6 separate regions of the Homo sapiens genome follow, and regions 2, 3, 4, 5 and 6 are each linked to region 1. The links are contacts of gene promoters, found by promoter capture Hi-C in blood cells and fetal thymus (Javierre and others, 2016). All regions are on one chromosome and are shown on one strand. The core of a region is centred on a gene start or on the middle of the fragment in contact, and the rest is flanking DNA. Distances in the headings are between cores, read along the strand shown. Region 1 holds the start of STARD10 (StAR related lipid transfer domain containing 10). Region 2 has its middle 3.8 kb from the start of P2RY6. Region 3 overlaps IUR1 (imatinib upregulated ABL suppressing lncRNA 1). Region 4 overlaps LOC124902709 (a long non-coding RNA gene). Region 5 has its middle 9.9 kb from the start of IUR1. Region 6 overlaps P2RY6 (pyrimidinergic receptor P2Y6).

Region 1 (4,931 bases), core at 1,788-4,287:
TTACAAGCGTGAGCCACTGCACCCGGCCTATTAATACAATTTTGTAAACCAAAAAGTACCTGAGACAGGTCTCTATCAGTTTAGAGATTTATTTTACCATGGTTGAGGACAAACCTGGGAAAGAGACAACAGCCACAGTAGAATCTGTGGCCCATACTTTTTTTCCAAAGAGGAGTTTGAGACCAGGTGGGGTGGTTCACGCCTGTAATCCCAGCACTTTGGGAGGCAAGGCAGGAGGATCCCTTGAACTCAAGAGTTTGAGACCAGCCTGGGCAACATGGCGTAACCCTGTCTCTACAAAAATCACAAAAAATTAGGCTGGGCGCGGTGGCTCACACCTGCAATTCCAGCACTTTGGGAGGCCAAGGCAGGGGGATCACCTGAGGTCAGGAGTTTGAGACCAGCCTGGCCACCATGGTGAAACCCCATCTCTACTAAAAATACAAAAATTAGGCCAGGCATGATGGCTCACGCCTGTAATCCCAGCACTTTGGGAGGCCGAGGTGGGTGGATCATGAGATCGGGAGTTCGTGACCAGCCTGACCAACAGCGTGAAACCTCGTCTCTAAAAAAATACAAAAAAAAAAATTGCTGGGCATGGTGGTGAGCACCTGTAATCCCAGCTACTCAGGAGGCTGAGGCGGGAGAATCTCTTGAACCCAGGAGGCAGAGGTTGCAGTGAGCCAAGATCACGACACTGCACTCCAGCCTGAGCGACAGAGCAAGACTCCTTCTCAAAAAAAAAAAAAAAATTAGCTGGGCGTGTTGGTGTGCGCCTGTAATCTCAGCTACTTGGGAGGCTGAAGTAGAAGAATCCCTTGAACCTGGCAGGCGGAGGTTGCAGTGAGCCAAGATCGTTGCAGTGAGCCACTGCACTCCAGCCAGGGTGACAGAATAAGACTCCATCTAAAAAAAAAAAAAAAAAAGGCAAAACATAATTAAAGTGAGAATTAAAAAAAAATTAGCCAGGTGTAGTGGTGTGTGCCTATAAACACAGCTACTCAGGAGGTTGAGGTGGGAGAATAGATTGAGCCCAGGAGGTCCAGGCTGCAGTGAACAATGGTCTTGCCTCCAGCCTGGGTGACAGAATGAGACCCTGTCTCAAAAAAACAAAAACAAGGCCGGGCACAGTGGCTCACACCTGTAATCCCAGCACTTTGGGAGGCCGAGGTGGGCGGATCACACGGTCAGGAGATCGAGACCATCCTGGCTAACACGGTGAAACCCCATCTCTACTAAAAAAATACAAAAAAAAAAATTAGCCCGGCGTGGTGGCGGGTGCCTGTAGACCCAGCTACTCAGGAGGCTGAGGCAGGAGAATGGCATGAACCCGGGAGGCGGAGCTGGCAGTGAGCCCCAGATCATGCCACTGCACTCCAGCCTAGATGACAGAGCAAGTCTCCGTCTCAAAAAAAAAAACAAAAAACAAAAAAAAAACCACAAACGAACAGCCCCTGCCCTCCCCCCAAAAAAGACAAACTGCATCTCACACACAGGTGACCCCTGTGAATACAGTCTCTGAGGAGTGATGGAAGAGGAAGCCCTGTGAGAGGTGCAGACTGCTACCCTCTAGAACACCAGGATGCCTAAATAGTAGAGGGCAGTTTCATTAGCGACATCAGTTTGCAAACTGAAAAGAGACACTCTCCTGTAGGTACCAAAGGTGCTCTCTCTTTGTATAGGGAAAAGGCAGGCTGGTTGTTTTTTGTTTTTGTTTTTTGAGACGGAGTCTCGCTCAGTCGCCCAGGCTGGAATGCAGTGGTGCGATCTCGGCTCACTGCAACCTCCACCTCCCAGGTTCATGCCATTCTCCTGCCTCAGCCTCCCGAGTAGCTGGGACTACAGGCGCCCGCCACCACACCCAGCTAATTTTTTTGTATTTTTAGTAGAGACGGGGTTTCACCATGTTAGCCAGGATGGTCTCAATCTTCTGACCTCGTGATCCGCCCGTCTTGGCCTCCCAAAGTGCTGGGATTACAGGCGTGAGCCACCACTCCCGGCCTAGGCTGGTTTATGACTCACAGGGTCTGTATTTCACAATAATCATACATATTCAGCAGGTTTTGGGGAAAAGCTATACATATTTATGAGGGGATGTGAGTGCATGCACAATGGGTAAACACCTGTAACATATGTTCCATGTTCACTTTGGGATGGGGTTTTTGCGTTAAAGTGAGGTGGAATTTGGTTCTTTGCATCATAAGGTGGACTATAGGACACAAACACAGTTTGCGTGCAGTCTCTATGAGCTTGCTGAAACTGGCCTGAGGTCTGCAGTTACTTATCAGGAAAGAATGTTTGTAAGGCCTGTCCTCTGTCGATCAGCGTTGTAGTGGTCTGAGTTGTAAATCTCAGTAAAGAAGAGTCTGACAATTTGCATGATAGCTCCTATTGCTAGGGGTTTAGTAAGAGTGTGGTTTTTCTGGCAGCAGTAGAAATTTAAGAAGTTGCCATGCCAGCTGACAGCTGAGCCCTGAGGTAGGCAACGTTTGTTTCCTTAACCTTAACCTTAAGGTCCATCGTAGTTGATAAAAAGGCATCTGGCCAGGCCTGATGGCTCACGCCTATAATCCCAGCACTTTGGGAGGGTGAGGCGGGAGGCCAGCAGTTCTGGGGCCACTGCACTCCAGCCTGACAGACAGAGACCCTGTCTCAAAAAATAAATAAATAAAAAAGATAAAGGGGCATTTGTCTTGATCGCTCAGATCACACAACTAATAAGTAGCATTCTTTCTAAAAGCCGCAACAATGCTACTCCTCTCTTATAAGAGCTACTGTGTAACTCCTGCCCAACTCAAACCCACAGGCCCAGGCTCAGAACACTTGGCTCCATTGCTTCACTGTTTCCCTGCTAGCACGAACCCCCCAAACTCCATCTCCCAACATGCCGCGGGCCCCCTTTCTGTCAGCCTGACTCTTGAGCTCCTGAGAAATGTAGTTTTTCCAGCGGCCCAGCCCCAGAAAGGTCCTAGCCAAGAACTACAGTTCCCATGTGGCAATGCGCGCGCCATTCCGGTGGAATTCACCGCGGTCTCCAGTTTGCCATGATGGATGCCAGAACCTGCACGTGGGGCTTGGTGACGCGATGACTGAGATGCTGGAGTCCCCGGTCAGAAGGACGATGCCGAGCGCGCCGTATTTTCTCCTGCCTCTCCTCAGATCGCCGCCGTTGTTGGGCTGTGGAGACGTCTCAACCAAAGTGGAGCCGACAGAGGCCCCGGGAGCCGTGGTGACAGAGCGGCCACAACCACTAGGGGGCGGGAGGCAGAGCGGCCCCTAGTCCGCCCCTAGTCCGGGACCTCTGGGCGGTCCCGGGCGGGAAGCGCACGCGCAAACGCGGGGCTTCGCGGCCGCTGTAAACACCAAAGAGCGCCTGCGCAAGCCGAGAGTCTCGGGATCGACACGTGGGGGCGCCTGAGCGAAGATAACCGTAATAAATAGTAACCTAACGGTCCAGTCATCGTTCTGTGGTCCTTTCTTTTATGATTCACAAGGAATGACCCTCTTCATCGCCTCTCCTAATTCAGTCCTCACAACAGTCCTTTTACAAATGGGACAACAGGTTAGAGGAAGTCAGGCAGATTTCCAGCATCATAGAGAGTAAAGGACCAGGGAAGGATCAGGATTCAAGGACTGCACCCAGGCTCTGCTTCCAGCTTGCTGTGTGACTTTGGGTAATTTTGTTCCCTTAGGGAACTGAGCTTTCTCATTTGTAAATGCAAACAGGCTGTTGGGAGGATCAAATGAGATCCAGGGGTGAAAACAGCTTAGTTTACTTTCAGGAATTTACCCACGCGGTATATAAAGGCAAAATATTATTATAGTCAGGTGATTGTAGATTGAGGAACCCATTTCCTCATTCTGCAAATTGCAAACCTGAGGGCCCAAAGAGGGACAGGGGCTTGCCCCAGGTCTCAGCAGGCTGTGAGCAAGAGCTAAAGCCTAATCCTCCTGCCTTTGGGCCTGGAGCCCTTCCTTGTACCCCAGGGGTCAGTGTCTTTGTTGGATACAGGCTTAGATTGACTGACTGTACCCTGAGAACCTAGGGGAGTCCCTGTTCCCAATTCTTCTCCTACCCCCACCTTGGCCTGATGGAGGAAGACCCTGCTGTGTTGAGATGAGCACCAGAGCCAAGAAGCTGAGGAGGATCTGGAGAATTCTGGAGGAAGAGGAGAGTGTTGCTGGAGCTGTACAGACCCTGCTTCTCAGGTCAGTGGCCCAAGTAAGGGAAAGAACCCAGGTGTGACAGATGAGGGGGCAGCACTAAGGGGACAGACTCTGAATGGAAAGGAGTGGGAAGGCAGTGGACACTGTTTCTGAGCTTGGGAGGAATTGGGTACTCAGGTAACTCCATCTGGGGGCAGTGGAGCTGGAGGTGATACCTGGGCTGGCCTGGCTGATGAGAAGGGGAAGTGATGCGCATTGAGCTGAGGTCTAGGAGCCACTCCCCAGCCAGGTGAAGCGAGGTGGCACCTAGGCACACCATGGCACCTGCAGGATCATGCAGCTAACCCCAGGGAAGGGGACTTTTCTCTGACCCTTGGAGCGGTGGAGCTGGGCTGTATGCAGCTGATTCTCTCTAGAGTGCTCTTAGAGGTTTTGGGGGTAGGTTGGGGGAAGGGCTGGGAGACCCTGAGGTCTCATTACAGATTGGGCCTCCCCAGGCAAGTCATGAAAGGCAGGTATATGTAGAAATAGAAATCCAAGATCCTTCAAGATATCCCAGATAGGCCAGGCACGGTGGCTCACGCCTGTAATCTCAGCACTTTGGGAGGCTGAGGCGAGCGGATCACCTGAGGTTGGGGGTTGAGATCAGCCTGACCAAAGTGGAGAAACTCCATCTCTACTAAAAATACAAAAAAAAAAATTAACCGGGCGTTGTGGCGGGCACCTGTAGTCCCAGCTACTCGGGAGGCTGGGGCAGGAGAATG
Region 2 (4,851 bases), core at 470-2,969, 480 kb before region 1:
AGCAGGCCAGATAGTGATAAGAGCAGCGATATAGAAACATAAAGGAGGGTAAGGGGCGGAGAGCTAGGGGGCTGCAGCCTCGGACAGGTGGACAGGCCCCATCTAGATTTGCCAGATCACCCTCTCCCAGCCACCTAGCCTGGAGGAGACCCTCCCCCAGGCCCCAAGCCCCCACTCTGTGCCAGGCTCTGCCTCAGTGGATCTCAGCAGCAGGCTAGTGCGAAGACTGGGACTCCCTGGGCACAGGCAGCAACTCAGGGCCACCAACGCTTTGGCAGGGAGCATCCCGAGCTTGTGCCCCACTCCCAGCCCTGGGGAAGCTCTCTGCTTCCTCTGTGGTCCAGAGAGGGAGCACATCCCTCAACCAATCCCCAATCCCAATATCCCAGTAGGCGAGAGGGCGCTGGACCCAGAGAGGGTCGGGACTTGCCTGGGTCACACAGCAAGGCAGAGCTCCCTCTCCTGCCCTCTCTTGGCATGTCCACAAAGGTAGGTTCAGGGGTGAGCCTCCCAGCACAGTGCTGGCCTGTGAGGGGCTGGCTGTGCCCCCCGTCAGCTCCTGGTAAAGGAGTGTGAGGTGTTTCTGTGGCAGGCCCACCTGGTAGTGCCAGCCTGCCCCACCCTCCAGGCTCTGACAGCCAAATTCTCCTACCCCAAGCCCCAGGAAGCTGAAGGCATTTTCCTTGCAACCCCAGCTCATGAGAGTTTTGGTCAACCCTGCCTCAGCTTGCTGTGTGACCTCAGGCAGTCCAGGCAGTCCCATCCCTCTCTGGCCTCAGCTCCCTCATCTGCCAAATAGAGGAAGTGAAGGCACTTACATATCAGGAGTGTCATGAAGAATGAGCAAGACACTGACAAGAAGGCAGTTTGCAAATTTTTAGACACTATCCAGATGACAGGCAAGCAGAAAACTCATCTGAAAACCAGCCCCTCATCCTGTGGGGCCCTGAGGTAGCCCCAGAGCAGGTCCTTGATCCTTGATGGGAAATAAGCACAAATTCCACAGAACCAGTTCTTCCGAAAAGACAAAGCCACCTCTGCTCCCAGCCAGCTGACAGGAAGGGCCCCTCCTCTGTCCTTGTGGTAAGAAGGTGTGGGGGGAGAGACGGGAAAGAGACAAGGCTGGGAAGGAGGCCTGGGAAAGCTTGTTCCGGGAGGCAGAGGCATAGCCCTGAGGTAGCCTTGAGAGCCACCAACCCCAGTCAGGCCCCCAGGCTGGGGGAGGACATGAATGCTGGTTGCACAGTGTCTGCCTGGGGGCTTGTCAGCCATGTGTACCTGTGCTGGAAGATGCGCATGCATTCACAAGGCACAGGTGTTTGGAATTGTGCCTAAGTATGTGTGTGTGTGTTTCTGTGAGTGGCTCTGGAGTGTGTACACCTGTTCACATACCTGTTTGCCCAGGCCCGGGCCTCTGCATGTGCTCCACACACATGCTGCTCCTGGGGAGCCCCGCAAACCCCTAGTCCACAGGCCTTATTTTCCCAGGCTCCGAAATCCTTATCATAATCTTCAAACTGTCCCAGATGTCACGGGAGATTTGTGGGGTTCCCAGGCTCTTGATTTTCCCCAGGAATAAAAGCAGTTACATAAGATGAGGAGGAAGCCTTAGGGGCTAACTTTCAGGCGCAGGCTCTCCCAGCTCAGCCCAGGGTGTAGGCTCCTCACGGGGAGGGGAGGAGTGCCCAAGGTTGAAGCCCCTTAGACCCTCCGTTGCCTGTGGGCACTGACCCCTCCACAGCCACCCTCCTGCACTCAGTCACCAGCAGGAAGCCCCTGGGTCCTTTACAATAAATCAGGTGCTTTACAGTTTACACCCCACATGCCCTTGCTGGGTGATGCTCACCACTAGCTGGCCAGGCTGACCTTCACGTCCTACCCCCGAGGCCCTGCCGCCAGGCAGCCACTGCTAGCTCAGTCCTAGTGTCTTCCTTCCTGGCTCTGGGCTGGGCTCACAGTTCAGTACTGGCTACTCCCTTGGGTGGGTCTCACCCCTTCCTGAACCTTGGTTTTCTCAGCTGTGGAATGGAGCTGTTCCGATCCACATGAGTCAAGGGCTGAGAAGGGTCTCTGTAGCCTGTAATGAGGCCCCTGGCAGGCAGGAATGGTCTCGTGCACATCCCTGGCCACCGCCCATTGGCCCCTTGCTGCTCCCAGGAGTCAGGAGGGAAAACACCACCTTCAGCCCTCTTGACTGAAACAGGAGGCTGCCTAGCCCTGGTCCGTGGGAGGAGATGTGGTCCCTCTGGGATTCAGATCAGATCCTAAAAAGAGTTGGCCCACTTCAAGCTTGCAGGAAGCATGGTTGGTGGTCTCCTTGGACAGGAGGAGACTGGACATCTTTTTTTTCCAGACAGGGTCTCACTCTGTCACCCAGACTGGAGTGCAGTGGTGCAAACACACAGCTCACTACAGCCTTGACCTCCTGGGCTCAAATGATCCTCCTCAGCCTCCCAAGTAGTTGGCACTACAGGCATAAGCTACTACGCCTGGCTAAATTTGTATTTTTTTTTGTAGAGACAGGGCCTTTCTAGTTTGCACAGGCTGGTATCGAACTCCTGGTCTCAATCGATCCTCCTCCCTCAGCCTCCCAAAGTTTTGGGATCACAAACGTGAGCCACCATGTCTGGCCAGGGCTAGGCCTTCTTGCTGAGCCACAGAGGTTTTCCCTCTCTGCAGCCTGAGCCCCTCATACTGTCCAGAGTCTGGGGTCTGCTGTTTGCCTTCCATCATAGGAAACCACAGAGAGGCCACAGAGACCTAACAGAGTTGTAAGGAGCACATGCCTGTGGGTGCAATTCTGCACTGGTGCATGCACAGCACACCCAGCCCCGGAAACAGCTCCACATAACTCACACAGGTTCACACATACATATGCACACGTGCCCTGGCACCTGCCACACTTGGGAACACACCACCCACGGCAGGCACGCAGGCACCATCACATGCATGGACCCACTTCCAGCCAGCTTACATAGTGTTCTAGCTTAGCTCAGCAGCAAGTTGCATGTGAAGAGCTTTCATAACCAGGAAAGAGATGGGAGAGGAAGAGCTGAGTCCTTGGATGCCCAAGCCCTTCCTTTGCCCCTCCCAGAGAAGCTAACAGGTTTCCCCAAGAACACAGATGGTTTGTCTGGCTCACCCTCTTCAGCCATCCCACATAAGTCCTGGTCAGAATACTCACAGAAAGTAGGCAAAGGTTTCTATGGGAGGATTGTCCCCAGCTTGCTCAGTCAGCTACCAGTCCTGCTTGTCGCCAGCTCAAGGCAAGGTTTTAAGCTAATCACTGTGAATTTTGGAGCTCTCCACCCCCCAGCCTATGCTGAGTTCAGACATGGCTGTGCATCAACGATGCTGCTCCTGCTGGCTCCACAGGAGTCTTTTCTACAACCTGAGGTCTCTCAGAGAGAATGAGGTTTGCCTTTGAGGTCTCTTCAGCCCCATTTCTTGTTCTCTCTCTCCTTCCTTTTGATGGCCTTGCAAGGTGCCCAGTGACTCCACAATTCCCTCATCCTGAGGGGTGCCTACAATCCAAGATCTGAACCTTTCTCTGCTCTAGGGCCACCGTCCCCTGAGAGCTGTGAGGTACTCCCAGCAACTCTGCTGCTCTGATGAGGAGGGGCCTCTGGGTTCACTGTCATCCACCCCAGAGAGCATATGGCCATTTTACCAGGCACCTGCCTCTACTCCAGGCTGGCTTAGGCAGGGAGGAGACCTTTTCTGGGGCTTCTCACATGATTCTGCTGAAGTAACCTCTTCCTTGGGAGTTTATAAGTTTACAAGAGTCAGACTGCCAAAGCCAGGGCCAGAATCCTCCAACATTGGAGCCAGAATTGGGGAATGTTACAGCTTTGGAGTGTAGAAAGTTGGAGTTCGAATTGTAGACTTCTAGAATGTTTGAGTAATTATAGACTCTTAGGGCTAGGGGTGTGGAATTATAAACAATTATAGCCAGAATTGGGGATTAAAGGAAATCAGGGCCAGAAGTGACGACAGCATCACTTGGTCCCACCTCCCTGACAGCTAAGAAGACAGCTGGCCTTATCACTCAGAAAGTCAGGGCTGGGCCAGGCCTCCTTCTCCCCAGGAGGGCTCTGTCCAGACCTTCCAGAGAAGCTCTCAGGGCCTCTGGGGCAGCAGTACTCCCTGTTAGGGACAGTGGGGACAGTGGCTTGCCTCTGTGGTGCCCGAGGTTGCACTGGCCCATCATGGCACCCCGTCACCATGAGATATATTTAGGTTCCCTCCCCAGATGTTTCCACAGCTCCCAACACTGCCTTTTATGTCCCCTTGTCCTCCAAGGCCTCCGGGCAACTCCTCTAAACTGACTCAATGAAGTCAACAGGAACAGGGGCACTTGCTCTGCCAATGCAGAAGTTTTAGCCCCAGAAACAAGGCTCAGCCTGCGGGGAGCCTCCTGGTCCACTTCTGCTTGCAGCTCAATGCTGACCTCACAGCCTCCCTTTCAGCTCTCAGGGCCTGTCTTGGTCCAGGGACTAATATTCCTGATCCTGTACTGGACTTTCCTCATTCCAGGCAGAGGGCAACCCAGGCTCCTGCCCCTGCCAGTTCCCAAACACACACATACACAGGGCCAGCATTTTTCGGTTCCTCCAGGGTTTGTCAGGACTGAGAAGCCTCCATCCAAGCCCATGGCTGCCCCTGCATTTCTCCCCCAACCTCTCTCCCACGCTCCATCCCAGGCTTTGACAGAGACCTGCATTGTCCTCTCCCAGACTGCATCTTCCCAGGAAGCAGGTGGTCACTGAGAATTCAACAAGGATTCAGTCTGGGAATGGGAAAGGATCCCTCAGAGATACTCAAATAGGGACTCTCTGATTCCTACCCACA
Region 3 (4,968 bases), core at 2,085-4,584, 370 kb before region 1:
GGGACCCAAATCAGCCCAGGGTATCTGCCTCAGTCCACCTCACCCCTTCCTGGAGACACTGGTTTCTTAATAAATCACGTGTCCTTCAAGGCTGGATTAAATATCAGTTTCCAGCCTGGGTCACATAAGGAAGTTTGGGGTTTTTTTGACATCAGTCCCTGAGCTCACTGCACAGGGTACATGGCCTCATTTTTCACTGACTGCTGTCTTGCCACTCTCATTTCTGCTATCAGCACCTTGATTTCCTTTGAGAGACTTTCCCATCTCTACTCTCAGTTCAAGGAATTCCTATGTGGCGGACCCCACATTCCCAACTCCAGAGTTGGGGAAATAATCCAGTTAGCTACATGAGACTGGTACTTTCCCCAGAACTACTGGGAAGGTCAACATTTTCTAGCAGGGCTGATGATGTCAAGATGCAACTCTTGGAAGTCACTTTTCTACTACATGGGGAGAGTAACTTGAGAGGGAAGCCAACACAGAGGAAGAAAGAGTGGTGAGATGGAGATAGATTCCTGGTGACTTGACTTGTGTGCCTGGATCTAGCCATTCCTGAAGCTAGCCATACTCCTGGTTTTCATATTTATGTGAGCCAATAATTCCAAACTCCCCTTTTATGGTTGGGCTTTATTTTATTTCCTTAACACACTAGAGATGAATTTCCATGATTTGCAGCCCAAAGAATCCTGATTAATATACCTTCTGAAAAATTCATTCTTAGGTCAGAATGCTGACCTCAAAGATATAACTTCCCCCTGGCTTTGGGGAAACATTCCAACACCATCTCTGTTTCAGCTGGATCGCCTGCCCTGGTAATTTGGCAGTGATGGAGAGGGAGGCTCACCTTTGGTTCTTTACATAGGGTAATGATTAATACCCAGTTTCAGCTGAGAATTGAATGGCCCATCAAAAAACCTGGGCAGGAGCTGGGCACGGTGGGTCACACCTATAATCCCATAATCCCAGCACTTTGGGAGACTGAGGCAGGTGGATCATTTGAGGTCAGGAGTTCGAGACCAGCCTGGCCAACATGGTGAAACCCCGTCCCTACTAAAAATACAAAAAATAGCTGGGCATGGTGGCACACGCCTGTAATCCCAGATACTTGGGAGGCTGAAGCACCAGGATGGCTAGAACCCCAGAGGCAGAGGTTGCAGTGAGCCAAGATTGCACCATTGCACTCCAGCCTGGGTGACAGAGTGAGACTCTGTCTCAAAAAAAAAAACAAAAAAAAACAAAAAACCCTTGGGCAGGATCCTAAAATGCAGCCTAGGTGTGTGCCTCCATTTATACCCCTCGCCAAAGAGCAAGACTCAACATTTCTCTTAGAATTGCCCCAAAGTAAATCTTTACCTCAAGGCCTTAGTGAGGAATGGTTATTGTATTGTAGATTCCTGTCTAGAGATGGAGTAGTGTTTTACATCAAACAGTCCACAGCAACTCTCTCTCCTCTCAAGCAACCCCAGGCTCCTCTCCTCACCAGTGAACCCCACCTCCACCTTTCCTGCCCTCTCCCCACACTACTTTTTTTATAGCACAATTAGCTCTGGGGTTCTCTTCCTTACCCGTGATATATAAGGCTGTGATCTAGCATAGGAAAGGCCATCACCCTGACCCTGAACAAGACTTCGTTCTCAGCAAACCAAAAACCTGCAACCTACCTAGGTATATTTTCCTTAGAAGGCATGGAGGAAATTGTAAATTTTCTTGTGATTATGGTAGTATCATTATATAATTTCAGATCTGAATTTTTGTTATATATGAGAAAAATGACTTGATTTTTAAATCATTGTACATTACATAGATGTCAAATTACAATATAAAATGATTTTTATATTGTAAAAATTATAAAATATACAACATAAAAATTATAAATATACAATATAAAATATATAATTTTATATTGTAAAATTTTGTATATTGTATGTATTTATAATTATAATATCAAATAATTTTTTAAATTATGTACCCAGAAGGAAAAATATTAATTTGAAGTCATATTTTTTCCAGCTTTACTGAGGTATAATTGAGAAATAAAATGTATATATAATCAAGGTGTACAATGTGATATTTTTACATAGGTATACATTGTGAAATGCTTACCACAATCAAGCTAATTAACATATTCATCACTTTACAGAATTACCTACATTTTCTGAAACATATTTTTTTCCTGTCGTGTGTTATAATTCTTCAGAACCAAATATATACCACACTGCTAAATCACCCCTTAACTGGAGATCAGTTTATGCAAATTACCCAGAGTCCTTTTAACACATTATTTTTCTGCTTAAATTGGTCATTTTTTGCTGTCACTTGCTCCCACAACCCTACAGATGCAGTGGATCCCTCCTGTCCCTTGCCCTAGCTCAGCTTCTGCTTTCTCATAGCCTGCACTGACTCAGGCAGCTACCCACTCCCTCTTTTCTGAGTCTTCCTGCCTCATCTCCTGTTTCCAACAGCTTAGCTTCCTCCTCAGATCTCAGGTTCAAATTCCTCAGAGGAATGAATGGCTGGCCCAACTTAATCCCTGTCTTCCAGTTTGGGCCCCAAGCTTTTTGGGTTGAACCAGCTCTGAAATCTCCAGCAAGTCCATAGCTTAGCTGCTCTGAGGCGTTCAGCTGTAGATAAGGGAGGTGGAGGGTTGTGGAACAGGGTGAGGGGAGAGCCCTTGAGCAAAATGGCTGTCATGACAAACACTCTGGAGCTTAGTCCATTCAGAACTGGGGGTGACTGTCCCCTTGCCACATTACACTTAGAATGTGGGCTCCCATTCCAAATCCCAAACCAGGAGAAAGCCCTGGATTGAGTGGTACCTTCCTGACCAGAGAAGAGAGACTGGAACAACAAGGGAACATCACTCACAGGGACAGGGGAGGGAGAGAAGGGGCCACAGAGGACATAATCTCCACCTTTGCCTGCAGACAAGGTCTCCAAGCACAGAAGCTGAGCTATTCCGGGTGGCCTGGAAGGAAGTATCAGAACCAGGTATGGATGTTACAAGGAGGGCAGACTCCATTTCAGCTTTTAAAATATTTTTCTCACAGTCAGAGCTGCTCCATAACAGACCAGGCAACCTTTGAAGGTAATGAGCTGTGTATTTTGGCAAGGTTGTAATGGACAGAATTCCTATAAGGTTGCAGTGGGTTGAACTTTGAGGTCTTTGAGGTCTCTTGCAGCCCTGAGCTTTGCTATTTGGAATACTTAGTTGAATAAATGAAGAGTGAATAGCTACTTATTATTTGCTGGTTGAATGAAGGTTGATTTGTTAGAGAAAGTGAATGAATGAATGAAATTAGTAGTCCTAATAAATACAGAATGCTTGACTGAATGAAGACTGGTTCATTCATTGATTAGTTGAATGAAGGTTGATTGGTTGGTTGCAAGAAAGAATTCATAAATGTAGGTCATAGATGAGCAGGCTGCTTAAATGAAGGTTTGGTGGCTGATAGGATTCAGTTCCTTGGCACTTGCTATCTTCTCTTATCTTGCCCTTTATCCTGCTTTTCTTTCTTTTCCTTCCAAGTGTAGTCAAGAACTGTTTTCATTTGTGTGCTGGGTGTGCAAAACATTGCAGACTAAAGACTCCTTTTGCATAAACAAGATTGGTTGCCCAGGCACATGCTTATGGTGACTGGTCTAACCTGCTTCTGAACTAATGGGTGATCTGAATTTAGCATCTTGGCCTAGGGAGTGGAACTGAAGGTCACAACTGGAGCTGGGCCTCACGTAGGCTCCCTCATGTGTAGGCAGAAAATGCTGTCTTCTCTGTGGGTGAGCAAAGGTTGCCTATTTGCAAGAAACTATATCCCAAACATTCTTTCAAAGTGCCTAAAATTCCACCAGTAGAATTACACCTTCTTTGCACAACAGAGCTGAAAGGCTGTTGAAGCAGCACATTCCAGCAACCTTTTGCTCAGATTGTTGTGCCTTTGGAGTAACTGTGATCCTTGGTGAAATGTGAATGGAGTCAGGGAAGGGATGCATGTGAAGCCCTTAGTGGCTGGATTAACCAACTGTTGTCACCAGCTCCTTCGGTCAATTTGGTCTATTAGCTGAGCTCAGTGCTCCTAATGGGGAACAGAGGAACCTGGACCCAGGCTGGATAAGCTTTGTAGGGACAGTGAACAGGAAATAGCCTGAGTACTTGAGTACTATCATGGGCTGTAGACATAGGCAAGGGGCCATGGTGGAATCCTGAAGATGAGGAGCGGCTCTTGAAGGGGACCCACGAAGGAAACCTAAGTAAGGAAAGAGGCCCAGAGACTTTCCCTCCCATTCCCCAGGGTTGTCTTGAGCTGGCTTGGGTGCAAAAAGGAATAATATACTTTCCTGGTCCCCCTCATCCTGCCCCACCTCTGGAACTAGAGAACCAAATAACTTGAGAACTGCATGTAACTTGTGTGGTCCCTCCACCAGCTTAAGGTAAAAACTATGGCCAAATTTTTTCCCCATTAATTGCTTGAGCTCCACAAGATTTTATCAGCAGGAAGTTCAATCTGGCCCTCTGGAGGCCTTCCCCCATGTCACAGGAGTGCTCAAAACCCACAGGGACTACACTAGCTCCTTTCCAACAAAGGCACTCTTGAGTCCCAGTCTTGCTCCATCTTACTGTTCAGAGTCCCAGCAGCTGTGAACACATGACCCCCAAATCCAAGCTTTCATTCACACTCCTGAGCTCCAGCAAGTTTCACCAGGAGGAAGGTCCAGAGGGGCTTCTAGGTCCTCAGCCCCAGAGTTAAGCCTGGCCACCAGTCCAAGGCTCCTTCCTACACCACTGGGGGCTCAGGGGTTCTTTCCTTCCAACAAGTGGGGCTCACTGGGGATGGTCATCTTAGCAGCCAGATAACTTTGAACCTCACAAGGAAAGTGACTGGACCTTCTTCCATTTGTGCCCTGGGGCTCCTTTGTCAACGTCTCACTCCTCCCAAATATGTTGCCTTTTTCTTCAGCTCTGCATCCCATTTG
Region 4 (4,859 bases), core at 675-3,174, 420 kb before region 1:
GTGCCCCACCACTTACCATGCTGTTATTGCTATCACTGCCTGTCTCCCCCTCTAACAGGGATCTCTCTGAGAGCAGAGCCAGGTTCCATTCTGTTCACAATTAAATGGCCAACACCTAGCACTGTCCCTGAATAATTTTTCTTTTTTTTTCTTTGAGATGGAGTCCTGCTCTGTCATCCATGCTGGAGTGCAGTGGCGTGATCTCAGCTCACTGCAACCTCCGCCTCCTGGGTTCAAGTGATTCTCCTGCCTCAGCCTCCCAAGTAGCTGGGATTACAAGTGTGCACCATCACACCCTGCTGATTTTTGTATTTTTAGTAGAGACAGGGTTTCACCATGTTGGCCAGGCTGTTCTTGAACTCCTGGCCTAAAGCGATCCACCCGCCTTGGCCTCCCAAAGTCCTGGGATTACAGGCGTGAGCCACCGTACCTGACCCCTGTCCCTGAACATTTGTCACAATATATTATGAGTGAATGAGTAAGAACTCTATTTTAGTGGTCACCTTCTTTGTGCTAGTCATTAAGTTTAAGGTATCTCGCTTAATATTCTCCAGAACCCTGTGAGATAGGCATTATTTTATTCTCATGTGACATGTAGAGAAACAGGTTCAGAAAGGGGAAGCGAAAGTCCAAAGCAGTGAATCTGCGGTGGGTCTCCTGGCCCCAGAATTGCAGCCTGATGGGAAGGAAGGCCCTGCTGAGTTCCCAGAGTTATGGCTGGGTCATGGCATTGGGACCCACACTGGCAGCTCCAGTTACACAGGGCTGGGCTGGCTCTAGCAGCCTTGTCTTACTTGCTCCCTGAACTGCTGCATTGACCTGCACCATCCTCCCTTCCCTTGCCAGCCGAGAACTGTGCTCCTCAGGTTTCCTGGGCAGGGTCCAGGGCTCTGATGCCAAACGCAGCCTGGAAACTCTAGCTCTCAGCATGCCAGGATGCGGGCACCCAAGTGAGGCCGCCTGGGATGCAGGAAGCTTAGTCCAGGCCTGGGCATGCCTCTGTTCCATCTCCCCTCAAGCAGGACCAGCTACTTAATCTGCGGGACCCAGAGCAGAATGAAAATGTGGGCCCCTCATTCAAAAATTTAAAATTTCCAACAAAAGAATGAAAAAATAAGAAAAAATTAAGAATTTCAAGATGGTGATAGCAGAGTATTTAACACTTCAAATCATGACCCTTACTGTCCAGGTCACATGCCCACAAAGTCAGCCCTGTCGTCAGGCCTTGGTTTCCTTGTCTGTCAAGTGGGAGAATGGTAGCCACTGGCCAAAAGGGTGAGGGTGAGAATGAGGTGGGAGCTGGTGGTAAGAGGTCCAGTGAACAGCATGAGGATGAGGTAAGAGTCTCCAAGTTCATGATTTGTTATCTGGGTCTCAGCACCGGGTGGCAGGCCAAACTCCTTGCCAGGAGTTTGATTGCTTACAACAGCTCTTTTTCACAGAACCAAAAAACTAAAAATCCATGAAGCAAAGTAACTTGCTCAGGGTCACACAGAGACTCAGTGGGGGAAGCCAAGATCAGAGTTCTGGCCTGGCTCTCTTCGAAGCTGGTGCTTTTTGTGACCCAGGCAGGAGAGAGAGAAGCGCAGGAGGGAGGTGGGATGGGGACAGGCTGCTCAGGACAAAGAGGGCCACTGTGCAGACACAAAGACCTGACCACAGAGGCCCCTCTGGGGGCTGGGACAGACAAATGGATGGAGCCCTGTGACTCTATCTGTGGTGACTGGGGTAGCTGCCAGGAGCTGCCTCCTAGACCCTACCTGGTTGTGATGAGGGTTGGGGAGGGTGTTGGTGTGCAGGAACCAGGAAATGGGTCAGGGAGGAGAAACAAACTCAGAGATGGGCCCCTTCCCCACTCCCCAGGCCTCTGACCCCATCTCCCCCTAGCTCCTCCTGGGCAGCCTGCCAGCTTATGGAATCTCCCACAAACCATCCACCGCCCCACATTCCTCCTTCTCAGTGAGGGTGAGGCTCAGGCAACTCACTGTCTGGCAGTCCCAGCCTCACAATACTTCTGACCCTTCCCCATCACCAGTGGCAGGATGAAGCATATGCCCTCGGCGCAGTGTCCTTCAGGGCCCTGTGTGACCTGCCCTGCTGACCTTTCTTCACTCACCTGTCCCCACTCCTCCTCAGCCTTCTACGCTGCAGTCACATGGAACGTCCCACCATTCTCCAAACACTCTGTCCTTTCATACACACACCCCCATGTTGGCTCATGCTTTTCCTTCTTCCTGGGGGGCTGTTTCCCCTGCTCCAGTAGACTGAAATCCCATTTCTCCTCCATGAACCAGCTCAAATGCCACCTCCAGTAGCCAGCTTTCCTCCATGCCCACAGTTGGGTTTAGCTTCGCTCATTAACCTGTTAATCTACACATGTTGGGTTCACCCACTCTAGCGGTGCTCCTCCCACGCTGGCTTGTGTTGTAGTTGTTCCAATCCACAAAGCCTACCTGGAAGAGGGGACCTTTGAGCTGAGCCTTACAGGACAGGTGGACTTCACTAGTGAATGTCAGTGGTAAGAAGTGACAGGAGCTCAAAGAATCAGGGATATCAGCCCTATCTCCAAAATTTTATCTGCATCAGCCAGGTTGCTGAGTTCAAATAGCAAGGAGTCTATAGTTCAGAATGGCAGGAGTTGAGTGTGCAGGGACACTGTCAAGGGATAAAGTTAAGAGGTTCACCAGGGCCAAGCCACGAAGGGTTTTATAATGCCATACTAAGGAATTTTTTTGCTTGCTTGTTTAAAACACATTTGAATTTATTTCTCAGCTCTATAGTTTACTAAGTAATTAAGTTCTGGCTTTTATCTTTACTATTTTCTCCCTCTTAATTACCTTGGGTAGCTTTTCTGTTCTTTTTCTACAAGCTTATTAAAGTGAATACTTAGGCTGGGTGCGGTGGCTCATGCCTGTAATCCTAGCACTTTGGGAGGCCGAGGTGGGTGGATCACTTGAGGCCAGGAGTTTGACTGGCCTGGCCAACATGATGAAACCCCGTCCCTACTAAAAATACAAAAATTAGCCGGTCATGGTGGCACACGCTTGTAATTCCAGCTACTCGGGAGGCTGAGGCGTGAAAATCACTTGAACCCAGGAGTTGGAGGTTGCAGTGAGCCAAGATCATGCCGCTGTACTCCAGCCTGAGTGACAGAGCAAGACTCTGTCTCAAAATAAATAAATAAATAAATAAATAAATGTGAATACCTATTTTGTTGTCATTCTTTTTCAATAATGTAAGCATTTTTAAGGCTATCATTTCCCTCTGAATTCAGCTTCGTCTATGTTACATACATTTTGATATGTAAAGCTTTCTTTATCATTGTTTTATAACAATAGTTATAATTGTTATAAATTATTATAACAATAATATATATAATATATATAAAATATTATATATTATAATACTATAATATAGTAGTAATTGAATTTGTAATTACTCTTTGACACAACCAAAAGTCTTTTTAGGGGAATATTTAGGTTTTGGAGTTCTGTTTATTGCTTAAACATGTTATGAGTTTCTAGTTTTGTTGCAGGTATGTGGAGGAAGAAAGGTTAAATTAAAGTCTGTAAAGAAAGGGTAAAGTCTGTAGTTGGTGAATATTTTATTTTTTATAATTTACTTTTTATGCATTCCATGGATATTTTTAAGGGAGATGTGTGTTTTCTTTTTATAGATTCACCTCTTGATATTTTATTTGCCTAGTTGTACTATATACGTAAGTAACACACATATATAATATTGAAAAATAATTTTCTCTTTATTTCTTCTTCCTCCCTTCCTTCCTTCCTTTCTTTCATTCTTTCGTTTCCTTCCTTCCTTCCTTTTTTTCTTTTCTTTTGTTTTCTTCTCTCTTTCTTTCTTTCTGCCTGCCTGCCTTCCTTCCTTCTTTCTTTTCTTCCTTTCTTCCTTTCTTTCTTTTTCTTCCTTCCTTCCTTCCTTCCTTCCTTTCTTTCTTTCTTTTTCTTTCTTTCTTTCTTTTTCTTTCTTTCTCTCCTCTTTTTTGAGACAGGGTCTTGCTCTGTTGCCCAGCCCAGCTCATTGCAACCTCGGCTTCCCAGGCTCAGGTGATCCTCCCAGCTCAGCCTCCCAGCTGGGACTACAGGCTGGTGCCACCACACTCAGCTGATTTTTTATATTTTTAGTAGAGATGGGGTTTCACCATATTGCCCAGGCTGGTCTTGAACTCCTAGGCTTAAGCAATCTGCTTGCCTCAGCCTCCTAAAGTGCTGGGATTATAGGCATGAGTCACTGCGTCCAGCCTCAGTATTTCTTTTTCACTTATATAACCCAGCAGGCTGAAAATGATGTGTCTCCCACTACTTTTTTGTTTATATCAACCTCTCCTTCTATTGCTATTTCATCTATTTTGATCCTCTGTTATTCAATATATAAAAGTACATCCTCACTATGGCTTACATATTTTTATAGATAAAAGTGTCCCCTTTTTGTCCCATCTAATGCTTTTAGCCATATTTTAAAATATTTCTTACATCACTACTACCATCCCCTGCTTTATTTCATTTGCATTTAGCCAGCATAGCTTTGTCTGTGCTTCCAAATGTAAACTTGTTGTGTCATTTAACTTTTCTATTTAAAATTTGGAATGAGTAATATATGGTTCAAAAATGTTATAGTATAGGAAAAAAAGATATTCAGAGAAATGTCTCCCTCCATCCCCCATCATTCAGTTGCCTGATTTCCACTGCTCCCTTCACTCTTAACCTGGAAAGTGTTTTTGTTAGTTTATTGCGTATCCTTGAGTTCCTTTGTGTGAATACAAACATTTCCACTTATTTTCCTTTTTAATTTTTATTTATTTTTAATTTTTTTTAACATGGAGTCTCGCTCTCTCACCC
Region 5 (4,424 bases), core at 1,504-4,003, 400 kb before region 1:
TTGGATTTTGGCCATTGGATACCTTGAGGTAGCGAAGTATGTCCAGGACCAGGTGGAGGGTGGTGCGTGGGGGGTGGTGTGAGCGCAGGCTGCAGGGGAATGCTGCGTGCATGCATGCACAGGGCTCAGCTGTCCCAGGAGTGCTAGGGAACTGCATGACTCAGGACAGGGCGGCAGGCTGAAGGAAGGGTGGGACGACCCAGGATAGTGCCAGTGAACCCATGGGGAACCAGTCTCAAACCTGCCTTCCTGCTTCCCTTCCTCCGTCCACAGTTTACTGCTCCGGGCAAAGTCTGCTGCAGTTCACAGAGAAGCAACAGCTTTGATGGCATCTGCAACCTAAGTCATAAAGATCAAAGTGGGATAAAGCTGGAGTGAGTTTCTGAGTTCCAAAAATAAGTAACATCTCAGAGGTTACTTTAAAAAATAGAGGCAGCTCAGTGCAACAGAAGGAGCTTGAGCCTCAGCATTAGACAAATCTGAGTTAAAATCCTGGCTTAGCCACTGTAGCACCTACACTTCCCAAGCCTCAGTTTCTTCTTTAATCTGGGCACTGGAGATGGTGTCTGTAGGGGGGCCTGGCTCATTTAGCCAGGGCTTAGTGAAGGGTAGGTAGGCATGGCCCTGTCACAGTCATTGCGGGGTCCCCGACCACAGCTGTGAAGGGGTCTGGACAAGCAGATGCTAAACGCCACTGGGACCTGCATACAGGGAGAAAGTCACTCATCTCTTCTAATACTGGAAAGAGATTGTGACTACCTACTAAAATTGCCCCAAGCAACATTCTATGCAGAGGAGAAAGAACAATGTGGTGTGACTAGTCCTTCCAGCCTCAGTGGGACAGCCACACAGTATTTCCCATCTATCAGCTCTCTATCAATTCATCTCCTGTGTCAGGTTATTGGCCAGGGCAAGAGGGAATGAGAGGAGAGGAAGATCCAGTCCCTGACCCCTGGAAATGCAGACTCTTGCAGGGCCAGATTCTCATGAGCAATGGCATGCCATGATGCCAAGCCTCACCAGGTCCAGGCCACGGCCGGAGGTGCCGAGTTCAGGCTGTTTGCATGGTGACCTCTCAGACTTAGTCAGCGTCCCCACCATCCCCAGCTTTAGTTGCATCATTGCACTCTCACTTATGCCACTAATATTCACTGAAGCCTGCTCTGTGGTAGGGCCCGAGTACAACAGAACGTGTCCTCTGCCTGCATAAAGCCTCAGTGACATGGACCAGTTGGTCCCAGTGAAAGGGCGATTCATTCTCTCCTGTTTTGTGATTGTGTGTCTGCCTCCCCACCAGACCGTGTGCTCCATGGAGCAGGGGCTGTGCCTGTCCCGATCACTGTCGGCTCCACTGTCCTAATCACTGCCCAGAGTCTGCTCCAAAGCCTCCTCCAGAGAGGGTGCTCCATTGATTGAACAGCTCCATGAGGAGGAGGGTGACTGACAGCACTCTGGGAACCCAGAGGAGGAAGTCACAACGCTAAAGGATAGCCAAGAAAGGGCTCCTGGCAGAGGCTGTGGGTAAAGTTTGCATAGGATGGAAAGAGGCAGGGCTGGAACAAGCAAGGGTATGGCAGTAGGAATGAGGTTGAGCTTTGCAGGAGTTCTGGGGAAGAGAGGTGGCGAGGTTAGCTGAGTGCAGGCCAGGAAGAGTTCCGGTGCTGCCTCTTGGGGTCTTGGGGTCTCTCTGCCTCTCTACATAGCTCTTAGTTTCCCCTAACCCCAGGGTTCTCACTCCCTCATCCCCCTACCTTCCAACAAATCAAGAAGTTCATGGATAAGGGACCCTGAGGGCAGCAAGGGAGGTGGTGAGAGCTCCAGTTGTCTGAGTCTAAGACCTTCCTCTGATGAAGTCCCAGCTCCAATTACCTTTCCCACCTAGCATGGCCGGAGAAAGTACAAGACGCCCAGTCAAATTTGAATTTCTGATAAACAGTGAAAAATTCTTTAACATAACGGATATTTGGGACATGTGCTTATACTAAAAAGTTATTCATTGCTAATCTGAAATTCAAATTTAACAACATATCCTGTATTGACATTTGCTAAACCTTGCAAACCCTCCCTTGACCCCCGCTTTTCAGCATCTGTCATTCACCCCTGCCCTGAGCCCCCAGGAACCATCAGAGGTTGTGGGCCTCCTGCAACATACTCAACGAAACAGAAATTCAGAGCTGCTAGGAACACTGAAGCTTATCTAGCCCCATTGCTCCCCACTATAAGTGGACTAGGAGGCCGAGGCCCAGAGGAAGCAGGCACTGGCAGGTCCTTGGGCACCTCTCAACAACTTGACTGGAACTTGGGCCTTCATGACAGCAGGAGGACCCTTGGCTGGGGGCTTCTTAGGAAAGGCCAGGGCCCTCCTATTCATCATTCTGGGGCAAGGCAAGGCAGGGAGTCTCCAGGTTTCTGCCCTGACCCTGGGCTGTGGTTTCCTGGATCTTGACACCCCCAAGTGAGTCACCTCCACCTCCCAGGCTACATCTGACTCAGTGCCAAGGCCCTGGGGCTCCTCAGCTCTTACCTGGCTCCCAGGTTGGAGGAGCCAAGTGGGCAGGTTGGGGTGGCTCTTGGGCAGGACTTTGTGGGAGGGACTAGACCTTGTGAGAGGCTCATTTCCCCACAGTCCTCCTCAGGCCCTGGTAATGGTCCAGTCAAGGGCAGCCCTCAGAAACTCCCAATGGTGCGGCTGGGTGCAGTGGCTCACACCTGTAATCCCAGCACCTTGGGAGGCAGAAGCGGGCAGATCACTTGGGGTCAGGAGTTCAAGACGAGCCTGGCCAACATGGTGAAACCCCGTCTCTACTAAAAATACAAAAGTTATCTGGGTGTGGTGACGGGAGCCTGTAATCCCAGCTACTTGGGAGGCTGAGGCAGGAGAATTGCTTGAACTCGGGAGGTGGAGGTTGCAGTGAGCCAAGTTCGCACCACTGCACTTTAGCCTGGGTGACAGAGTGAGACTCTGTCTCAAAAAAAAAAAAAAAAAAAAAAAAAATAGGAACTCCCAGTGGTGCAGCTAGAGCTGAGGAGAAGGTGGAGTGCCTGGTGGCAGGCGGGGTGGGGGTACATGGGTCGGGGGTAGGGACATAGATTTAATTAAAATCACTCAGCCCATCAGGCCTGCAGGGGTCTTCTGTCAAGTGGCCATTCCCCGCTCCCCACTGAAGGTGCCCATCCCTCTGGGCTCTGTTTCTTCCTCTCATCTTTCCATTGTTATGTTATGTATTAGTTTGCTTATTGTCAATGTCTAGTTAGAACATAAATCCTGTTCACTGTTTCAAGATCATAAAACAGTACCTGGCTCAACAAGCTTTGTGGAAATTGCCCTTACTGCATTTCACCTTGTGTGGAACATGGCCCCTGATGCCACAGTCCCCCACCCACCCATGAGCATCTCAGCATCTGCCAGGAGACTGGCTGTGTGCAGAGCTTTGTGTTCCCCCGGTCCAGGTTCCAGTTCCCTCCTCTGATTACAGCCCAGCCTGGGTCCTGGGACTGAGAAAGTAAAAGCACAGGGTTGGGGCAGACTGACAGACAGTGGGTTTAGGGTGCTGCTCAGGGTGGGGCTCTCATCTGCCTGCCCCAGTGCTTCCACCCGAACCACACAAGCCCACAGCACCTAGACGTGGCCCAGGAGCTCAATCCCAGGCCCACACGGAGCTGACCCCTCCCAGCCAGTCGGGCTGAGGGTACAGCACTGAGCCAGAAGCTGATGACCTGTCTGCCTTGACTTGTGACCTGCCAGATCCCTAGGCCTTGCCGGGCCTGGCTCTGTCTGTCTGTACAATGATGGTTCTGGGCTGACTGGTCTCTGAGGCTTGCCAGCTCAGCCCACCCATGGCTTTTTCCTACCCCTTATCTACCTCTAAACCTCTGTGCCAGCCACTCCTGCATTACCCTGGGGGTACTCCTGAGCCAAGGATCTTAGACCCTCCCCTTCACCCTAGTCAGACCCTTTGCTGACCCTTCTCTGGGACCCAAGTCCTGGTCCTATCTGTCTTGGGGACCATAGGCAGTTGGTGCCAAAGACTGTCCCCAGGATACTTGGGATACTTTAAAGTCATCCAGTAAAATGTCATTCAGGGAAAATCTGTCCACATTTACCTGGCTCCAGCCCTCTAATCAATCCTCCTTTGGGACGCCTGCTCCCCTGACATGTCCAAAGCTGATGAACTCTTTATCTTTCCCCAGACCTGCTCTTCCTGTCACAACCTCAGCAAGAGCATCACCAACCAGCCGGTCACCTGGGCCAGGAACCCAGAAGCCACCAAGCCTCCTCTCATTTTCTGCCTGCCCTCCTCCCATCCTTAACTAAATCCTGGCCACCCCTCTGTGCTATCCTGGGGACTGTCCACCTCTCACCTTCCGCTGAACTGCCCAACTTCATCCTTCATCTTTTCCTCCTGAACCTCAAAAGCAGAGGG
Region 6 (4,325 bases), core at 1,160-3,659, 490 kb before region 1:
TCCCACTTCCCCTTCTCAACCTCCCACTCAACAGGAATTAAAGCTAAAACTGAAACAGCCATTTTCAGTGAAAGGAAGAGGAAGCTGCAGCTTTGGGGAATTTGAGGGTTGGGGCTGCTTCCTTTGGTTTCTCTCCAGCCTCTTCAAGCTTAGCAAAGATGGAACTTGCATCTCCCAAGACCCCACTATGTATGAGGGGCCCCAGTTGCCGAAGAGTGCACCCACAAGTCCCACCACAACCTGGACACATGTATTCATTGAGCACTAACGATGCACCAAGCATTGTGCAAAATGCTTGATGTGCCGTGTCTCATTCACTCTTCACAACTACTGTTTCCACTTTACAGATGAGGTGACTGAGGCATAGCAAAGTTAGCAAGAGGTTCTTTCTTGGGAATGTGAATGAAGAGGGTTAGAGACCACGCGGCCCCGGTGGGCACAGGGCTGAGAGGTCAAGGGCAGCCCTGAGACTGAGGAACTGTGTGGATAGCACAGAGGCCCAGGGAGCAGCTGTGACAGGGCAGCCCCCGGTGAGCAGAGGGACGGCCTGTGGTGCCCAGCCTGTATAAGTCCACGCCTATAGGGCCACTGCACCTCCCACCCAGTGCTCCAGGAGATCCCCAGGGCCTCCTAAAAAACTCTCCCCTGGAGCTAGTGGGAGAAGCTCTCTGTGCCTTGCCTGGACAACCAGGCTGTCCCATTTGTTTGTCTCCTTGTGGGAGAGGCCACTTGGTTCTCCCTTTGAGAAGGAACCTGCTGCTTAGCTGCAAGTAGTGCAGTTGGCTGATGGCCACAGTTAGTGCCTTCAGGATCCGCCCATCCTCCCAGATAACCAGGCTCCAGTCCGTGGGGGGAGAGATGGCCCAGGTCCAGCCACCTGGCTAGCCTGGCAGTCATTGTTCAGCCCCTCTGTAGCTTCTTCCCACCCAGTTCCCAGACCCCCTCTTATGATGACGACGCTGCCCTCTGATTTTCCTTTGGGGGATCCCCCTTCTCCCCTCTAGAGTCTTGGGGATCTGGGAGTGATGGGTCTGTGATCTAAGCCTACCAATGAGAGAAGAGTGGGCCCCTCAGGCCTGTAACTGGCTCAGGGTGGAGGAGTGACCTTCACTGCATGCCTCAGAGTCAATTCTGGCGCTTTTACTGGGGCATCAGGAAGGAGACAGGTCTTCCACAATATTTGCAAAGTTAGTAGAAAGTGAGGCAGGAGCTGCTGGAGCCAAGTGAACTAAGTTCCAGGCATTGTCCTGGGCGACGGAGATACTGCCACCAGGGAGGAGACTATCCACATAGAAAGCCAAGGAATGGCAGAGATGAGAGATGGGGATGCATCGTTTCCTGAGAACAGCATTGAGTGCCTGGTTTCAGCTGTGCCTGAGGTTTTACCTTTGGTGTCATGAGCTGATAAACTCCCTTTTTGCCTCAATCCATTTAACCTAGGATTCTGTCACTTGAAACTAGGAGTCCTGCCTGTAGATCTGCACCTTGTGCCCAGGAAGACAGGTGACATTTCCCTACGAGAAAACTGAGGCCAGAGAGGTTAGGAACTTGCCCAAAGTGCACTATAAATCCACCATGATACCCTGTCTCTCAGGAAGAGTGGCTTAAGAAAGGACAAAGAAATGGAGGTCAAGAGTCAGGGCAGAGAAGAAGACCAGTCGAAGGGGCGGTGTCAGACTCCCTCCCTTTCCTTCTCTAACTCTGCTAGGAACAGGGGACAAGGTCTGCTTTGCCTCTGGAGCCTCAGAGACCAGTATAGGCTTTGGCCCAAGAGGCACTGGGAAATGTTGGATGACTGGATCCAGTCTATAAAGATGAGCGCCGGGGCTCTGTCCTCGGTGCTGCCTGGTTCCATTTTTTTTTTTTTTTTAAATCTTTGTCTTGACTGATGACAGAGAAGATTTGTCAAGGAGAATGAAGGTAATGGGTTCAGGAGTAGCACCTCTGAGACTGCTTGGGTCCCCCAGTCCCCACCTCAGGAAAGGCAGACCACTAACCCCGCCAAGTGGTTATTGTGGGTTATGATCCTGCCCATTTCCCAGGCAGACCCTGAGGCCCGAAGGTAGGCAGTTTTGTCCACAACTCGTACAGGTAAGGTTTGGGTGTGGAAGGGGAGCCTCAGGGAACTCCTCCCCTCCCGTGAAAGGCAGCCCCTGCCTTGATTCCTGTTCTGATCATCCCTAGCTCTTCCTGGGGCCTGAGCCCACCTGGCAGTGATAAGACGTCCAGCTGGACCCAGGGGTCAATGACAGGCCTCTGAGTTCTGGACCCTCAGGGCTAGGGAGGCCTTAAGGTCACCTGACCCAGAGGTCTCCCCATCATCCCCTCAGAGAAGGGGGCTCTCTGAAGCCTCCCTGACTGGGCTTGTTTGGCCCCTGCCTGCATACTTCCCATTGCAGGGAGCTCACTCCTCTCCTAGGCCACTGCATTCCACCTTGAGAAAGCTCACTGGGAGATATGCTTTGTCACACCAAGCCCCAAGATCTGTCCCTAGTGACTGCTCTCCCACACCAGTCCAGCTTGCCTCTGGGGCCATATAGCTTGGCTGCCCCAGGACACCCTGCAGAGGTTGTCCCAAGACCATCCATCTATTGGTCTTCATTCTCACCAGGCAATTTCAGGCACATGTCCAGGTCCCAGGAGACCTAGTGGTGGATCCTCAAGGATGAGGCCGTGGTCTGTGGCTGTTTTCAAACCTGAAGACAAAACCCTTTGCTACCCTCTGTCCTGTTTCATTGCCTGCCTGGGGCCTGTAAGGGGGGCATAGTCTCTTCTTTTGGGAGGAGGAAACTAAGGCCCCCAACAGCTTAGTTACTTGCCAGGGCCACCAATCCGTCAGTGATCTTCCAATCAGCAGGACTGCCTGTCGCCAAACCCCAAATCTTCACCCTCAAACTGGCCTGTTTGTGGCCAGTCCAGTGTGGGAGGAAGAGGACTTTGTGGGTGTCCAAGGGGTGGCCTGGGAGGAAGAGATCAAAGTAAGGGGCAACTACCTCATTCAGAGTGCAATGTAGGAGGTCAGCAGGCAACAGTGGCTCCTGCTGTGGAGTGTGCATGAAGAACACAGGACAGGCCGGGTGTGGTGGCTCACGCCTGGAATCTCAGCACTTTGGGAGGCCAAGGCGGGAGGATCACTTGAGCCCAGAAGTTCGAGACCAGGCTGGGCAACATAGAGAAAGCCTGTCTCTACCAAAAAATGTTTAAAAATTAACTGGATGTGTTGGCGTGTGCCTGTAACCCCAGCTACTTGGGAGGCTGAGGTGGGAAAATCGCTTGAGCCTGGGAGGCCAAGGCTGCAGTGAGCTATGATCACACCACTGCATTCCAGCCTTGGCTACAGAGCGAGACCCTGTCTCAAAAAAGGGACGTAGGACAGACCCCCTCAGGTGGTCACTCGAATGATACCTTCTCCATGGGACCTTCTCCTACCACTCTAAGCTAAAATTATAAACCCCTACGCAACGCATGTGCATGTGTGATTCCTACGCCCCTTCTCTGCTATATTTTTCTCCTTAGCATTTAAAATCTTTTAATACACTGTTCTACTTATTTATTGGTTATTGTCTCTCTCTCATGACTGAACATAAACTCCACCAGGGCAGGGGTTTTCGTGTTTTTTTTTCACTGCTGCATGTACTTAGGACGGTGTCTGGCATATAGTAGGTTCTCAATAAATATTTGTTGAGTGAATGAACAAATAAATTCCAGACGTGGTTCAATTATGTCTACACAGAGAGGACTGGGTGCACGGGGGTCTTGGCTTGAGGCTATTCATGTAGCAAGCTGTAGTTTGTACTTAAGAGTATGTGTTTATTGGGGATTGGGAGCAGATAGAGATTAAACGTGAGCACCAAAGGCCTTTAAGCCAGCCCTGGGGCTGCTTCTGCCTGGCCGTGTGTGTGAGATTTGGGCTGTGAACAGTCCCAGCTGAGACGGGTGAATAGAACTTCGCCTGGCAGGGCTAGGCAGCCTGCATCTCCCTCCTGCCCTGCCTGAGGTTTTCTCTGGTACTCTCACCTCCCTGCACAGGATCACTCCCTCTGCACCAGGGCCCGGCCAAGGATCTTCCTGGCTTCTCTCCCTCCCCTTGCCAGCCTAGGCCTCCCCACCAGGACCCAGGATTCCCATGAACACAACAAGTCAATTCGTGTCCCTCATTCATGGTGACACCAGACTGCTCCATCCTGCACTGTGGGGCTGAGTAGAGCTGGAGGACATGACTTGGTTGAGTGCCTGAGGCCCTGCAGACCCTGTCACTGCCCCACTTGGCTGGGTCCCCAACCTTTTGTCTGTCCTAGGGCATCCTCCCTCCTCTGTCTTCTAAG

Evidence for each region. The method cuts DNA at HindIII sites, captures the fragments that hold promoters and counts their contacts. A CHiCAGO score of 5 or more calls a contact.
Region 2: a fragment that was not itself captured here is called in contact with the fragment with the promoter of STARD10 in region 1 in 1 of 17 cell types (M1 macrophages); the score reaches 5.8 in M1 macrophages.
Region 3: a fragment that was not itself captured here is called in contact with the fragment with the promoter of STARD10 in region 1 in 4 of 17 cell types (naive CD4 T cells, M1 macrophages, M2 macrophages and 1 more); the score reaches 6.3 in naive CD4 T cells.
Region 4: a contact is called between a fragment that was not itself captured here and the fragment with the promoter of STARD10 in region 1, in 2 of 17 cell types (erythroblasts and neutrophils). The highest score is 5.8, in erythroblasts.
Region 5: a contact is called between a fragment that was not itself captured here and the fragment with the promoter of STARD10 in region 1, in 2 of 17 cell types (M1 macrophages and M0 macrophages). The highest score is 7.7, in M1 macrophages.
Region 6: a fragment that was not itself captured here is called in contact with the fragment with the promoter of STARD10 in region 1 in 2 of 17 cell types (M1 macrophages and endothelial precursors); the score reaches 6.4 in M1 macrophages.

Annotation. Positions count from the first base shown.
Region 1 is chr11:72,792,153-72,797,083 of GRCh38, reverse strand. STARD10 (StAR related lipid transfer domain containing 10) reads left to right here and starts at 3,037. Exons shown (of 7, transcript NM_006645.3): 1 at 3,037-4,209. RefSeq lists enhancers at 2,712-3,281, 4,413-4,912. The HindIII fragment of the contact is 8,350 bases long and covers 1-4,931 here.
Region 2 is chr11:73,266,123-73,270,973 of GRCh38, reverse strand. It overlaps a transcript of P2RY6 not described here. Among named protein-coding and RNA genes, the nearest start is that of P2RY6, 3.8 kb to the left of the region's middle. RefSeq lists enhancers at 1-190, 565-614, 191-984. The HindIII fragment of the contact is 1,145 bases long and covers 1,147-2,291 here.
Region 3 is chr11:73,162,727-73,167,694 of GRCh38, reverse strand. IUR1 (imatinib upregulated ABL suppressing lncRNA 1) reads left to right here. Exons shown (of 4, transcript XR_950294.3): 2 at 2,925-2,988. Among named protein-coding and RNA genes, the nearest start is that of IUR1, 18 kb to the left of the region's middle. The HindIII fragment of the contact is 1,556 bases long and covers 2,557-4,112 here.
Region 4 is chr11:73,210,487-73,215,345 of GRCh38, reverse strand. LOC124902709 (a long non-coding RNA gene) reads left to right here. Exons shown (of 3, transcript XR_007062773.1): 3 at 158-490. Among named protein-coding and RNA genes, the nearest start is that of P2RY2, 5.4 kb to the left of the region's middle. The HindIII fragment of the contact is 1,894 bases long and covers 978-2,871 here.
Region 5 is chr11:73,190,552-73,194,975 of GRCh38, reverse strand. No RefSeq gene overlaps it. Among named protein-coding and RNA genes, the nearest start is that of IUR1, 9.9 kb to the right of the region's middle. The HindIII fragment of the contact is 1,118 bases long and covers 2,195-3,312 here.
Region 6 is chr11:73,284,120-73,288,444 of GRCh38, reverse strand. The region is part of intron 1 of P2RY6 (pyrimidinergic receptor P2Y6); the gene reads right to left. Among named protein-coding and RNA genes, the nearest start is that of P2RY6, 14 kb to the right of the region's middle. The HindIII fragment of the contact is 4,518 bases long and covers 151-4,325 here.